2 separate regions of the Homo sapiens genome follow, and region 2 is linked to region 1. Evidence: promoter capture Hi-C in 16 types of primary human blood cells and fetal thymus (Javierre and others, 2016). All regions are on one chromosome and are shown on one strand. The core of a region is centred on a gene start or on the middle of the fragment in contact, and the rest is flanking DNA. Distances in the headings are between cores, read along the strand shown. Region 1 holds the start of TRIM21 (tripartite motif containing 21). Region 2 has its middle 16 kb from the start of OR52K1.

What was found. The method cuts DNA at HindIII sites, captures the fragments that hold promoters and counts their contacts. A CHiCAGO score of 5 or more calls a contact.
Region 2: a contact is called between a fragment that was not itself captured here and the fragment with the promoter of TRIM21 in region 1, in 1 of 17 cell types (monocytes). The highest score is 5.3, in monocytes.

What each region holds. Positions count from the first base shown.
Region 1 is chr11:4,392,057-4,399,117 of GRCh38, forward strand. TRIM21 (tripartite motif containing 21) reads right to left here and starts at 1,646. Exons shown (of 7, transcript NM_003141.4): 1 at 1,577-1,646. RefSeq lists enhancers at 1,537-1,746, 1,767-1,826. The HindIII fragment of the contact is 6,932 bases long and covers 1-3,454 here.
Region 2 is chr11:4,494,620-4,501,757 of GRCh38, forward strand. No RefSeq gene overlaps it. Among named protein-coding and RNA genes, the nearest start is that of OR52K1, 16 kb to the left of the region's middle. RefSeq lists an enhancer at 527-1,726. The HindIII fragment of the contact is 4,788 bases long and covers 3,250-7,138 here.

The sequences.
Region 1 (7,061 bases), core at 396-2,895:
ATTAAAAATAAGAGTATAATTGCATAGTTTGTATTACAGATGATCAATGCTTGAGGTGATAGATGCCCCACTTACCCTGATGTGATTATTACACATTGTATACCTGTATCACAATATTCCATATACCCATAAATATACCTACTATGTGCCCACAAAAATTAAAAATATACTAAAAAAAGAAAAACAAAATGATGCAAAGGAAAATAAAAAATAAGAATAAAAATAATGGGTCAGGCACGGTGGCTCACACCTGTAATCCCAGCACTTTGGGAGGCCGAGGTGGGTGGATCACCTTAGGTCAGGAGTTCAAGACCAGCCTGACCAATATGGTAAAACCCTGTCTCTACTAAAAATACAAAAATTAGCTGGGAGTGGTGGTGGGCACCTGTAATCCCAGCTACTTGGGAGGCTGAGGCAGGAGAATTGCTTGAACCTGGGAGGCAGAGGTTGCAGTGAGCCAAGATTGTGCCATTGCACTCCAGCCTGGGTGACACGGCGAGACTCCCTCTCAAAAACAAAACAAAACAAAACAAGGCATAAAATTAATGGCAAAACAATTAATGTCAAAAACAGTAATTACTTTTGCACCGATCAAACAGTTTGTTGAATAAGTTTATTCCTGTTCTGAATAACAAGAACTCCTCCATTGTTTGGTCCATTGATCCAGTGAGACAGAAGGAGAAACTGAGTCCCTAAAAGAGGGAATGAAAATTGGCAAGAACCTCATAAAGCTGTTGACAGTTCTACTCTCATCATGTCCATTCCTGCTTAAACCCTCAGTGCTCATCCATCTCCTGTCGGGTACCAACAGGCCTCCATGTTGCTGAGAAATTATAGCTACTTTTTACCATGTACCTTCCATGTGCCAGAGATACTTCATGCTTTGAATATATCTTCATTAATCCCTCCTATAACGGCGGAAGTCAGTTGCATATATGTATGTAGGTGTATATGTATGTATACACACAGAGTAACAGGAACCGTGGCCAGCACTCCCTGGGCTCTTTTCTCAGCTGCTCCAAACTTAGTTTAGTTCCTGACAACACTTATTCTAGGACAAAGAATAATTCTGAAGGCCTATACATTTCTGGTTGAACATCCTAAACAGCCTGCCCCTCTCACCTCTGGAGGACTTTTGGACCTGGGAGTCTCCAGAATTGCAGACCTCCCCGACACTGGGCTCCCTACCCTCCTGGCTAGGCTGTAGTCCTGGCTATCCCAGCCACACCCAGCCGTCATCCTAGGTCAGGTGCCAGCATGGGGGCAGCCGGGCCCCTTCCCCTTCTGGGTAACTCCACAGTCACGTCCACAACCCAGCCTCCTCCCAGGTAGGGGGCAGCCGGGCCCCTTCCCCTTCTGGGTAACTCGGCAGTCAGGTCCACACCCCAGCCTCCTCCCAAGCAGGGGGCCAGCACCGGAAGCGCAGCTGGTCTTGGGTTGAGGGATCCCTGGTGGGAGAAGGGGCAAATGGGACCGGCTCAAGGATGGAGACTGGAAGGGGCTCTGCAACCCTGGGGCAGGGGAGAGAGGTCCCCTAGGAGGGCAGGGGTCCCTTGATCTAGTGGGGTTCACTCACCTTTACAGGGGACTCAACGCTGGTAGCCAGCTCCCTATTTCACTTTCAGTTTCCGCTCAGAAGCAAGTCTGAGAGGAAAGGGGAGGGAGGAGGAGGAGCCGTGGGAGGAGTGAGGGAGGAGCAGTGGGAGGAGCAGAGCCTTGAAAGGGTGTGTGGAGAAATGCGGCTGAGAAGAGAAGTCAGAGTTGAGCTGGGGGAGGCTTCAGAGGCTCTGCATGCCCAGGAGGCTTCTCTGAGACTGGGAAGGAGTGGAAACTCAGTAGCCCGTGGTCCTGGTTGCGCGCTCCCTCCCATGTCTTCATTATCTGATTTGGTAAAATATCTACAAGACGGGGGAGTCCGGGCTGCTTTCTTTGACACTGGTCATCACTCCACACCTAGACGCTATGTCCATGTCTGGAAGATGCTTTTAAGGAAGTTTTGATGCAGAGAAGAGTGGCCGGTGCTCTTCCTCGCGTGCCACCATCTGCTTACTTCCAGAAGCTAATTATTTTCATGTGACTGATGTGACTAATATTTTTTAACGCCTGCAGGTGAGTGATTTATTTCGCATGACCCCAAGGTGAGTGTCCCACCAGTGAGTGGTGAGAAGGAAATTGACATTTGACAACCAACTGTGTTCTTGTCACTGAGCTAGGGACATTCTCAGGTTATATTATTTTTATTTTTAATCGTAAAAATATAGAACATAAAATTTACCAAAGTAATTTTTTTAATTTTCAATCTTGTGTGTCTATAGTAGGTGTATATATTTGTGGGGTACATGAAATATTTTGATACAGGTAGAGCATACAATCCGTAATAATCATATCAGGGTAAGTGGGGTATCTATCCATCACCTCAAGCACTTATCATTTGTGTTATATACAATCCAGTTATATGCTTTTAGTTATTTTAAAATGATAAATTATCATTGACTGTATTCACCTTGTTATGCTATAAAATACTAGATCTTATTCATTCTCTCTCATGTATTTTTGAACCCATTAATCATTCCCCACTACCCTTCCCAGCCTTTGGTAACCATCATCCTCTCTATCTTCATGAGTTGGATTGTTTTAATTTTTAACTCCCACAAATAAGTGAGAACATAACAATTTGTTTGTTTGCCTGTGTTTGGTTTATTTTACTTAACATAATAATCCCCAATTCCATCCATCTTGTAGCAAATGAAAGGTTCTCCTTCTTTTTATGGCTGAATAGTGCTCCATTGTGTATGTGTACCACACTTTCCTTATCCATTTATCTGTTGATGGACACTTACGTTGCTTCCAAATCTTGGCTATTGTGAATAGTGCTGCGATAAACATGGGAGTGCAGATATCTCTTTGATATACTGATTTCCTTTCTCTTGGATATATACCTAACAGTATTTCTTCTGGGTATATACCTAGCAGTATCCAGTAGGATTGCTAGATTACATGGTAGCTCTATTTTCAGGTTTTTTTTTTTTTTTGAGGAACCTTCAAATTGTTTGCCATAGTGTTTGTACTAATTTCCATTCCCATTGACAGTGTATGAGGGTTCCCTTTTCTACATATCCTTGCCAGCATTTGTTATTGCCTTTCTTTTGGTTAAAAGACATTTTAACTGAGGTGAGATAATATCTCGTAGTTTTGATTTGCATTTCTCTGATGATCAGTGGTGTTGAACACATTTTCATATATCCATTTGCCACTTGTATGTCTTCTTCTGAGGAATGTCTATTCAGATCGTTTGTCCATTTTTGAATCAGATTATTATATTTTTTTCCTATAGAGTTGTTTGAGTTCTTTGTATATTCTGGTTATTAATCCCTTGTCAGATGGATAGTTTGCAAATATTTACTCCAATTCTGTGGGTTATCTCTCTACTTCATTGTTTCCTTTGCTGTGCAGAAGCTTTTTAACTTGATGTGATCTCATTTGTCCAGTTTTGCTTTGGTTGCCTGTGCTTATGGAATATTTGAAAGAAATTTTTGCCCAGTCCAATGTCCTGGAGAGTTTCCCCAATATTTTCTTGTAGTAGTTTCATAGTTTGAGGCCTTAGATTTTTTTTTAAATTATACTTTAAGTTCTAGGGTACATGTGCACAACATGCAGGTTTGTTACATATGTATACACGTGCCATGTTGGTGTGCTGCACCCATTAACTCATTTACATTGGATATATCTCCTGATGCTATCCCTCCCCCCTCCCCCCACCCCAGGACAGGCCTCAGTGTGTGATGTTCCCCTTCCTGTGTCCATGTGTTCTCATTGTTCAATTCCCACCTATGAGTGAGAACATGCGGTGTTTGGTTTTCTTGTCCTTGCAATAGTTTTCTGAGAATGATGGTTTCCACTTTCATCCATGTCCCTACAAAGGACATGAGCTCATCCTTTTTTATGGCTGCATAGCATTCCATGGTGTATATGTGCCACATTTTCTTCATCCAGTCTATCATTGTTGGACATTTGGGTTGGTTCCAAGTCTTTGCTATTGTGAATAGTGCCACAATAAACATATGTGTGCATGTGTCTTTATATCAGTATGATTTATAATCTTTTGGATATATACCCAGTAATGGGATGGCTGGGTCAAATGGTATTTCTAGTTCTAGATCCTTGAGGAATCACCATACTGTCTTCCACAATGGATGAACTCGTTGACAGTCCCACCAACAGTGTAAAAGTGCTCCTGTTTCTCCATATCCTGTCTATCACCCATTGTTTCCTGACTTTTTAATGATCGCCATTCTAACTGCTGTGAGATAGTATCTCATTGTGGTTTTGATTTGCATTTCTCTGATGGCCAGTGATGATGAGCATTTTTCCATGTGTCTGTTGGCTGCATAAATATCTTCTTTTGAGAAGTGTCTGTTCATATCCTTTGCCCACTTTTTGATGGGGTTGTTTTTTTCTTGTAAATTTGTTTGAGATCTTTGTAGATTCTGGATATTAGCCCTTTGTCAGATGAGTAAATTGCAAAATTTTTCTCCTATTCTATAGGTTGCCCATTCACTCTGATGGTAGTTTCTTTTGCTGTGCAGAAGCTCTTTAATTAGATCCCATTTGTCAATTTTGTCTTTTGTTGCCATTGCTTTTGGTGTTTAAGACATGTAGTCCTTGCCCATGCCTATGTCCTGAATGGTATTGCCTAGGTTTTCTTCTAGGGTTTTTGTGGTTTTAGGTCAGAATAACCAATGCAGAGAAGTCCTTAAAGGACCTGATGGAATGGTGCTATCCAGCCCAGATACTATGCTTTTCCCATGGTCTATGCAACCCACGGACCAGGAGATTCCCTTGGATGCCTACACCACCAGGACCCTGGGTTTGAAGCACAAAACTGGGTGGCTGTTTGGGCAGACACTGAGCTAGCGGCAGGATTTTTCATGCCCCAGTGGCGTCTGGAACACCAGCAAGACAGAACTGTTCACTCCCTTGGAAAGGGGGCTGAAGCCAGGGAGCCAAGTGGTCTAGCTCAGTGGATCCCACCCCCATGGAGCCCAGCAAGCTAAGATCCACGGGTTTGAAATTCTTGCTGCCAGTGCAGCAATCTGAAATTGACCTGAGATGCTTGAGCTTGGTGGAGTGAGGGGCATCCACCATTACTGAGGCTTGAGTAGGCGGTTTTCCCCTCACAGTGTAAACAAAACTGCTGGGAAGTTCGAATTGGGTGGAGCCCACCAAAGCTTCGCAAACCTGCTGTAGCCAGACTGCCTCTCTAGATTCCTCCTCTCTGGGCATGACATCTTGAAAGAAAGGCAGCAGCCCCAGTCAGGGGCTTATAGCTAAAACTCCCATCTCCCTGGGACAGAGCATCTGGGGGAAGGGGTGGCGGTGAGCACAGCTTCAACAGCCTTAAACATTCTTGCTTGCCAGCTCTGAAGAGAGCAGTGGATCTCCCAGGACAGTGCTTGAGCTCTGATAAGGCACAGACTGCCTCCTCAAGTGGGTCCCTGACCCCTGTGCCTCCAGACTGGGAGACACTTCCCAGGAGGGGTCAACAGACACCTCATACAGGAGAGCTCTGGTTGGCATCTGGCGGGTGCCCCTCTGGGACAAAGCTTCCAGAGGAAGGAACAGGCAGCAATCTTTGCTGTTCTGCAGCCTCTGCTGGTGATACCCAGGCAAACAGGGTCTGGAGTGGACCTCCAGCAGACCTGTAGCAGAGGGACCTGTTAGAAGGAAAACTAACAAACAGAAAGCAATAGCGTCAACCTCAACAAAAAGAATGTCCACACAAAAACCCCATCCAGAGGTCACCAATATCAAAGACCAAAGGTAGATAAATCCATGAAGATGAGGAAAAACCAGTGCAAAAAGGCTGAAAATTCCAAAAAACAGCACACCTCTTCTCCTGCAAAGAATCACAACTCCTTGCCAGCAAGGGAACAAAACTGGATGGAAAATGAGTTTGATGAATTGACAGAAGTAGGCTTCAGAAGGTGGGTAATAAGAAACTCCTCTGTGCTAAAGGAGCATGTTCTAACCCAATGCAAGGAAGCTAAGAAACTTGAAAAAAGGTTAGAGGAATTGCTAACTAGAATCATCAGTTTAGAGAAGAAGATAAATGACCTGATGGAGTTGAAAAACATAGCATGAGAACTTCATGAAGCATACACAAGAATCAATAGCCGAATTGATCAAGAGGAAGAAAGGATATCAGAGATTGAAGATCAACTTAATGAAATAAAGCATCAAGACAAGATTAGAGAAAAAAGAATGAAAAGGAACAAGCAAAACCTCCAAGAAATATGGACTATGTGAAAAGACCAAACCTCCATTTGATTGGTGTACCTGAAAGTGACAGGGAGAATGGAACCAAGTTGGAAAACAGTCTTCATGATACTGTCCAGGAGAACTTCCCCAACCTAGCAAGACAGGCCAACATTCAAATTTGGGAAATACAGAGAACACCACAAAGATACTCATCAAGAAGAGCAATCTTAAGACACAATAGTCAGATTCACCAAGGTTGAAATGAAGGAAAAAATGTTAAGGGCAGCCAGAGAGAAGTGTCTGTCCACACAGGGAAGCCCAACAGACTAACAGCGGATCTCTCTGCAGAAACCCTACAAGCCAGAAGAGAGTGGGTGCCAATATCAACATTCTTAAAGAAAAGAATTTTCAGCCCAGAATTTCATATCCAGCCAAACTAAGCTTCAGAAGCAAAGAAGAAATACAAACCTTTATAGACAAGCAAATGCTGAGAGATTTTTGTCACCACCAGGCCTGCCTTACAAGAGCTCCTGAAGGAAGCTCTAAATATGAAAAGGAAAAGCTGGTACCAGCCACTGCAAAAATATACCAAATTGTAAAGACCATTGACACTATGAAGAAACTGCCTCAACTAACAGGCAAAATACCCAGCTAGCATCATAATGACGGGATCAAATTCACACAGATCAATATTAACCTTCAATGTAAACAGGCTAAATGCCCCAATTAAAAGACACAGACTGACAAATTGGATAAAGAGTCAAGAACCATTGGTGTGCTGTATTCAGGAGACCCATCTCATG
Region 2 (7,138 bases), core at 4,394-6,893, 110 kb after region 1:
CAACAGCATATGAGGGGGTTTGACACATCTCATGATAGGTATCACCCGTTTAGACATCAAGGTGATGTTGAATATGGGTGTCTTGGTATTAGTAGCAAAGAGTTGATAGGTAGTGTTCCATAGCCTTATTCCTGTCATGGCTGCAGCTAATTTCCATAATTCAGGATGTTCTGGGGTAACAATTGGATGAATCATTTTTGGTCTAGGAGGAATGATGCCTGTGTACATCAATTTAAATGGGTAAGGAGCTACCCATTCCCTCAACCTGTAGGACTGCCATCCGTCCTCTACATATTCTAACAAATAAACTCTGAGCATGTCATATTTTGGCTGGAGCAATTCCGCCAATAATAAATACCCTCTTGGAGCCCAGTCAACAACAACAACCGTAGGTAGAGTTTGGAACACTACGGGCTTTGAAGCATTACAATCATTCCATACAATTGAATTTACTAAAAAAGGTCCCTTTGTAGGTTTATTGGAGCAGTCTGGCAGTCCTTTTGTTATTTTTTGTGGTAACAGGAACCCTCCAGTCCTCATGTGGATTAAGTTTAACAATCATAAGTTGAAAAGAGTTGGTACTGAACACATTATGTACCTGATAAGAATCATTACTCAAGGATGGTATGGTCCACATCCAATTCTGATAAGAATAAGCTAAACAGCCAGGTGACATTCCAATGCACAGTGGTGGATATTTATAGCCGATTGACAAATTAAAGTGCACATCTCCTTCTGGTTGAGCTGGAAAGCTGTCATCATTAGGGGCTGGCATGAAGGCACTATTATTAGTGTAAACTTCTACTGAGGAGTCCATCCAGGAGACAGACTGAATTAAAGGGGGAAAAGGAACATATGTGCAAGAAGCATAATTTTGAGTTGCCCCAACTGCTGGTATACTCACCACTACACTGACTACCATAAAGGCAGCCAGAATTATATTACCTGTTTTTGGAATTCCTTTTTCTTGTAGTAATTTTTCCGTTTGATGTGATAAGACCTTTATTTGACCCCATGTTGGTGGAGTAGAATGACTGGTATTGTAGGTCACACGGTGAGATTGTGTCATAATGTTGAGGTCATGGAATTTATGTGTCAGGCGGCAAAGCTTGCCTTTCAATTTCTGACGTTTCTTCGCCTTTTGTTTCTGAGAGCTTTTTATCTTTGAAGTTATAGTGCAATTTCAGTTGCCGGGAGGGAACCCACACGGGTTGTTGTCCTTCTTTTGGGCAAACACAGCAAAACCCCTACCCCATGTTACCACAGTGCCTGATTCCTGTTTGTCAGTTTTGCATCTTTCCACCATACCCGCTTTTCCTTTTTGTGGATCAAATTTATTTCCAGTGAAATGTTCTGCTGCTGTAAAAGGTTGATTTCTTACTAAATTTAAGAAATTTAGTGTAAAAAAGCAGCACTAGTGTAGCCGGGGCCGTCATTAGTTTTTAGTTTCTCGGGACAGCCCATAACTGAGAAAGATGAAAGTATGTGTCGTTTAACATGAACCATATACTTTCCCTTGTTTGACAAGTGACCCAGATAAAATGAGAAAAGGTGTCAATAGTTAATGTATAAAAGAGAGTTTGCCGAAAGCAGGATAATGAGTCACATCCATTTGCCAGAGAGCATTTTGTGAAAGTCCTCTAGGATTAACTCCTGAAGAAAGTGGCTGTAACATTAACACTTGACAAGTAGGACAGTGATGTACGATGGTTTTAGCTTGTTTGCCTGTAAAGGGGAACTTTTTCCAGAGTCCTGCAGCACTGACATGAGTTAAAGCATGAACATTTTCTGCATCTGTAAAAACGGGAGCAACTAATGTATCAGCTTTGGCATTTGCTGCCGAGAGGGGTCCGGGGAGGGGTGTGTGAGCCCGAATGAGTAATGTAGAAAGAAGACCTTGCTGTGAGTACGGATTGAAACTTTTGGAAAAGAAAAATTAGGTTATCAGGCAGAAGTTTGATTAAGGCAGTTTCAACGTTGCGAGCAACATGTACTACATAGGCCGAATCAGAAACGATGTTAACTGGTTCAGGGAAATCTTCAAGAACAGCCATGACAGCGATCAGCTCAGCTCGTTGTGCTGAAATAACTCCTGTGTTAAGAACACATTCTCTTGGCCCGGTACATGCTGCTTGGCCATTATTACAGGAAGCATCAGTAAAAACAGTGACAGCTTCAGCTAATGGTGTGTTTCTAGTAATGTTAAGGTAAGATCCAAGAAGTGAGTTTAAGGAACCGGAATAGTTTTGCATTAGGATAATGATAATCAGTTATACCCGGGAAACGTGCCAAATGTACTTGCCAAGCAATGCAGGTTGCAAAAGCCTGTTGGACTTGTAATCAGGTGAGGGGAACAATGATTTTTTGGGGCTTAATAACCTTGTCTTCTAGCTGCATTCCTAAATAGTGATAAGGAGAAGAAGTCTGGATTTTTTCTGGGGCAATAACCAAACTGGCTGTTGCAACTGCAGTTGTGCTGCAGAAAAACAAGATATTAACACGGAGCGTGAAGGTGCCGCAAGATCAGCCGCCTGCTGAGCAAGATCAGTGGGTTGTGGCTGATTTTTTGCCACAGGGAAGGCAGGTATTGGAGGTTGTAAAATTAGAGGAAATTGCCAGGCTTCGGGATCCCCATATTCTCTTGCCTGTGCTATAGCCCTCATAAGAGGAGTCTCATTTTTAGGAATGTATGTGACTTGTCACAGTAGCCACCGGACCAGAAGCAGAAAAAAGTTGGAATTTTGAATGGAGGAAAAGTTGAGAACCTGTAAACCAGGATGAGACGAGATTACCTGCCGAGCAGATCTTTCATGGGCCTGAAATCCAGGCTGCCCCGGTAATTGCAGACCAGGCTACAGGGGAGCCTGAGGTTTCTTAAAGGGAACCCGATATTCCAAGAGAGATCCAGGCTTCAAGGGAAACATTTTCCGAGAGAGACCCAGGCTTCAAGGGAACCTGATTTTCCGAGAGAGACCCAGGCTTCAGGGGAGCCTGAGGCTTCAAGGGAGCCTGATTTGTGGAAAGAGAATCAGGCTTCAGAAATGGAAAACTAGGCTGTGGAGGGATAGGATTGGGGCCTCATTACCAGGCCAAACAGGCAGAAGGTTGAGAGCCCTACAGCAGGGCTGAACAGGGACAGGGTTGAGATAATACAGGAGGGTTTTTATGAAGTTTAAATAAGTCGAGTACTTAGTACTGGCTTGTCCCCTGGTGTCCCCGGGATACTCTGAGTGCTCAAGCTTACCACCAAGCTTATTGACCACAGTCCTCAGAAATCTGTCGTCAAATGAATTGTTTTGGGCCCAGATAATATATAATTTTGATAATTTCACTTATTTGTACCTTGATTTTCCCCTGGAGCCCTAGCCTGCTTTTCTCTTTCTCTGAAGCAGAATTGTCCCTCACAGGATCCGTAATCATGCCAACTTCTCTGAACTGACTATATTGTACTGGATTCCCTGAAGTAGGTTCAAACTACAGGGCTGGTATCAGATATGTTTTTTTATTCAGACTTGCATTTAAATCTTTAATCCATCTTGAATTGATTCTTTTATATGGTGTAAGGAAGGGATCCAGGAGTAATCTTCTGCATATGGCTAGCCAGTTATCCCAGCACTATTTATTGAATAGGGGGGTCCTTTCCCTATTGCTTGTTATTGCTGGCTTTGTTGAACATCATCTATCTCCACTTTTGTAGATTACATATGAGAGATTATATAGTATTTGTCTTTCTGTGCCTGGCTTATAACATAATGCCATCCACATTCATCCATATTGTTGCAAGTGATGGGATTTTAAGGCTGAATAGTATCCCGTTGTGTATACATACCACATTCTCCACTCATCTGTTGATGGCCATTTAGGTTGATTCCATATCTTGGGTATAGTGAGTAGTGCTGTAATGAACATGTGAGTGCAGACCTATTTTCAACATGAGGTTTTCATTTCCTGTGGATATCCATCAAGAAGAGGGTTTATTGGATCATATGAGAGTTATACTTTATATGAGAGTTTAATTTAAGGAACTGCCATAGTTTTTCCCCATAATGGCTGTACTAGTCTACATTCCCACCAACAGTGTGCAAATGTTCCTTTGTCTCTGCATCCTCATCAGCACTTGTTCTTTTTGTTCAGGACTGCTTTGGCTATTCACAACTTTTGTGGTTCCATATAAAATTTAGGATTTTTCCCCTCTACTCATGAGGAAAACATCATTGGAATTTTAATACGGATTGCATTGAATTTGTAGATCACTTTGCATAGTATGGGCACTTAAAAATATTCTTCTGATCCATAAACTTGGGATATCTTTTCACTTATTTGTATTTTCTTTTTTTTGAGAAGGAATCTTGCTGTCACCCAGGCTGGAGTGTAGTGGCACGATCTCGGCTCACTGCAAACTCTGCCTCCCGGGTTCATGCCATTCTCCTGCCTCAGCCTCCCAAGTAGCTGGGACTACAGGTGCCCGCCACCACGCCCAGCTTTTTTTTTTTTTTTTTTTTTTTGTATTTTTAGTAGAGACGGGGTTTCGCTGTGTTAGCCAGGATGGTCTCAATCTCCTGACCTCATGATCCACCTGCCTCGGCCTCCCAAAGTGCTGGGATTACAGGTGTGAGCCACTGCGCCTGGCCTCACTTATTTGTATTTTCAACTCCTTTCAGTGTTTTATAGTTTTCAATGCACAGGTCTTTAACTCCTTGGTTAAATGTATTTCTACATTTTATTTTTTCGTAGCTATCATGAATGGAATTGTTGTCTTATTTTCAGATATTTCATTGTTTGTGTATAGAAACACTGTTGATTTTTATGTGTTGATTTTTATTTATGACTTTTCTAAATTTATTAGTTCCAACAGTTTTTTGTGTGTAGAATATTTAGTTTTCTGTACGCAAGATTATTTCATCTGTAAACAGGGACAGTTTAACTTCTTTCTGATTTGGATATCTTATTTTTTTCTCTTGCCTAATTGCTCTAAGACTTCAGCACTATGTTGAATACAATTGGTGACAGTGGGAATCCTTGTCTTGTTTCCAGTCTTAGAGGAAAATCTTTCAACTTTTGAGAGTGTTGTTAGCTATGAGTTTATCATATACAATCTTTATTGTGTTAAGGTACAATTTTTTTTTTTTTTAAATATAGGCTCTTACTCTGTCACCAGGCTGGAGTGCAGTGGTATGATCATGGCTCACTGCAGCCTCAACCTTCCAGAGCCCAAGTGACCCTCCCACCTTCAGCCTCCTGAGTAGTTGGGACTACAGGCATGTGCCACCATGCCCAGCTATTTTTTGTATTTGTAGTAGAGATGGGGTTTCACCATGTTGCCAGGCTTGTCTCCAACCCCCGGGCTCAAGTGATCCACCCTCCTCGGCCTTTCAAAGTGCTGGGATTACAGCCATGAGCCACGCCACTGTACCTGGCTGAGGTACAACATTTTATACTTAATTTGTTGATAGTTTTTTTTAAGTCACTAAAGGATGTTGCATTTTGTCAGTTTTTTCTGCATCTAATGAGGTAATCATATGATTTGTCCTTTATACTGTTAACATTGTGTATCACATTTATAAACTTGCATATACTGAACCATCCTCACATCATTGGGATAAATCCCACTTGATCATGGTTAAATGATTCTTTAATGTGCTGTTGAATTTTGTGCTAGTATTTTGTTGAGGATTTTTGCATCTATATTCAGAAATAAATTGGTCTATAATTTTCATTTCTTCTATCTTGTCTGGATTTGGCATCAGGGAAATGCTGCTCTTGTAAAATGAGTTTGGAAGTAGTTCTTGTTCGATTTTTTGAAGTGTGACAAGGATTGGTATTAGTTCCTTAAATGGTAGGATTGCACAATGAAGCCATCAGCTCTTGAGTTTCTTTGGTGGAAGATTTTTAATTATTGATTCATTACTTATTCATCTGCTCATATTTTAAATTTCATCATGATTTAGTTTTTGTAGGTTATAAGTTTAGGAATCTAAACATATAACCTTCTAAGCTATCCAATTTGTTGGCATATAATTATTCATAGTGGTCTTTAGTGATCCTTCATATTTATAGGTATCAGTTACAATGTTTTCCGTTTCTGATTTTGAGCATTCTTTCTTAGGTTTGTAGAGATTTCTCAGACTTTCTAAAGTTTTATATTGTTTATCTTTAAGAAAACAACCCAGTTTAATTTATATTTTCTATTGTTTTTCTAGTCTCATTTCTGCTCATGCCTTTTTTTCCCCTCATACTTATTTGGGGCTTAGTTTCTTCTTTTTCTATTTTCTTGAGGTGTAACATTTAGGCCATTTGTTTGGGATCTTTGATGTTGGCGCTTGTTGCTGTAACTTCCTTCTTAGATTGCTTCGCTACATCCCATAAGTTTTGGTGTGTTGTGCTTCCATTTTTATCTCAATCTTTCATTTCCCCTCTAATTTATTTGACCCTTTGATTATTCAGGAAAATGTTTAAGTTTCCATATATTGGTAAGTTTTCAAAAGTTCTTCCAGTTATTGATTTTTAGTTTCATACTATTGTGGTCTAAAAAGAGACTTGATACGATTTTGATTTTTTAAAATTTGTTAAGCCTTGTTTTGTGGATTAACATGGTCCATCCTAGAGAATGTTTTTTTGTGTACTTGAGAATATGTATGTTGCTATTCTTGGATTAAATGTTCTGCATATGGTTATCAGGTTCATTTGGTCTAGAGTGTTTTTAGTCAGTTTTCTTATGAATGTTCTCTCTAGATTATTTGTACATTGCTGAAAGTGGGGTATTGACGTCCCCTAGTAATTGTATTATACATTCTTTGTCTATTAATATTACCTTTATATATTCAGGTGGCCTGATGTTGGGTACACATATATACTTACAATTGTTATATCTTCTTGATAAATTTACCCCTTTATCAACATATATTATCATTTTACAGTTTTTGACTTAAATTCTATTTTATCTAAGTATATCTACCCCTGCTCTATTTTTGGTTCCCATTTGCATGGAATATATTTTACCATCTTTACTGTTGGTGTGTGTGTTTTTACAGGTGAAGTGAGTCTCAGGCAGCATACAGTTGAGTCTTTTTTAATCTATTAAGCCACTCTGTCTTTTGATTAGACAATTTAATTCATTTACATTCAAGGTAATTATTGA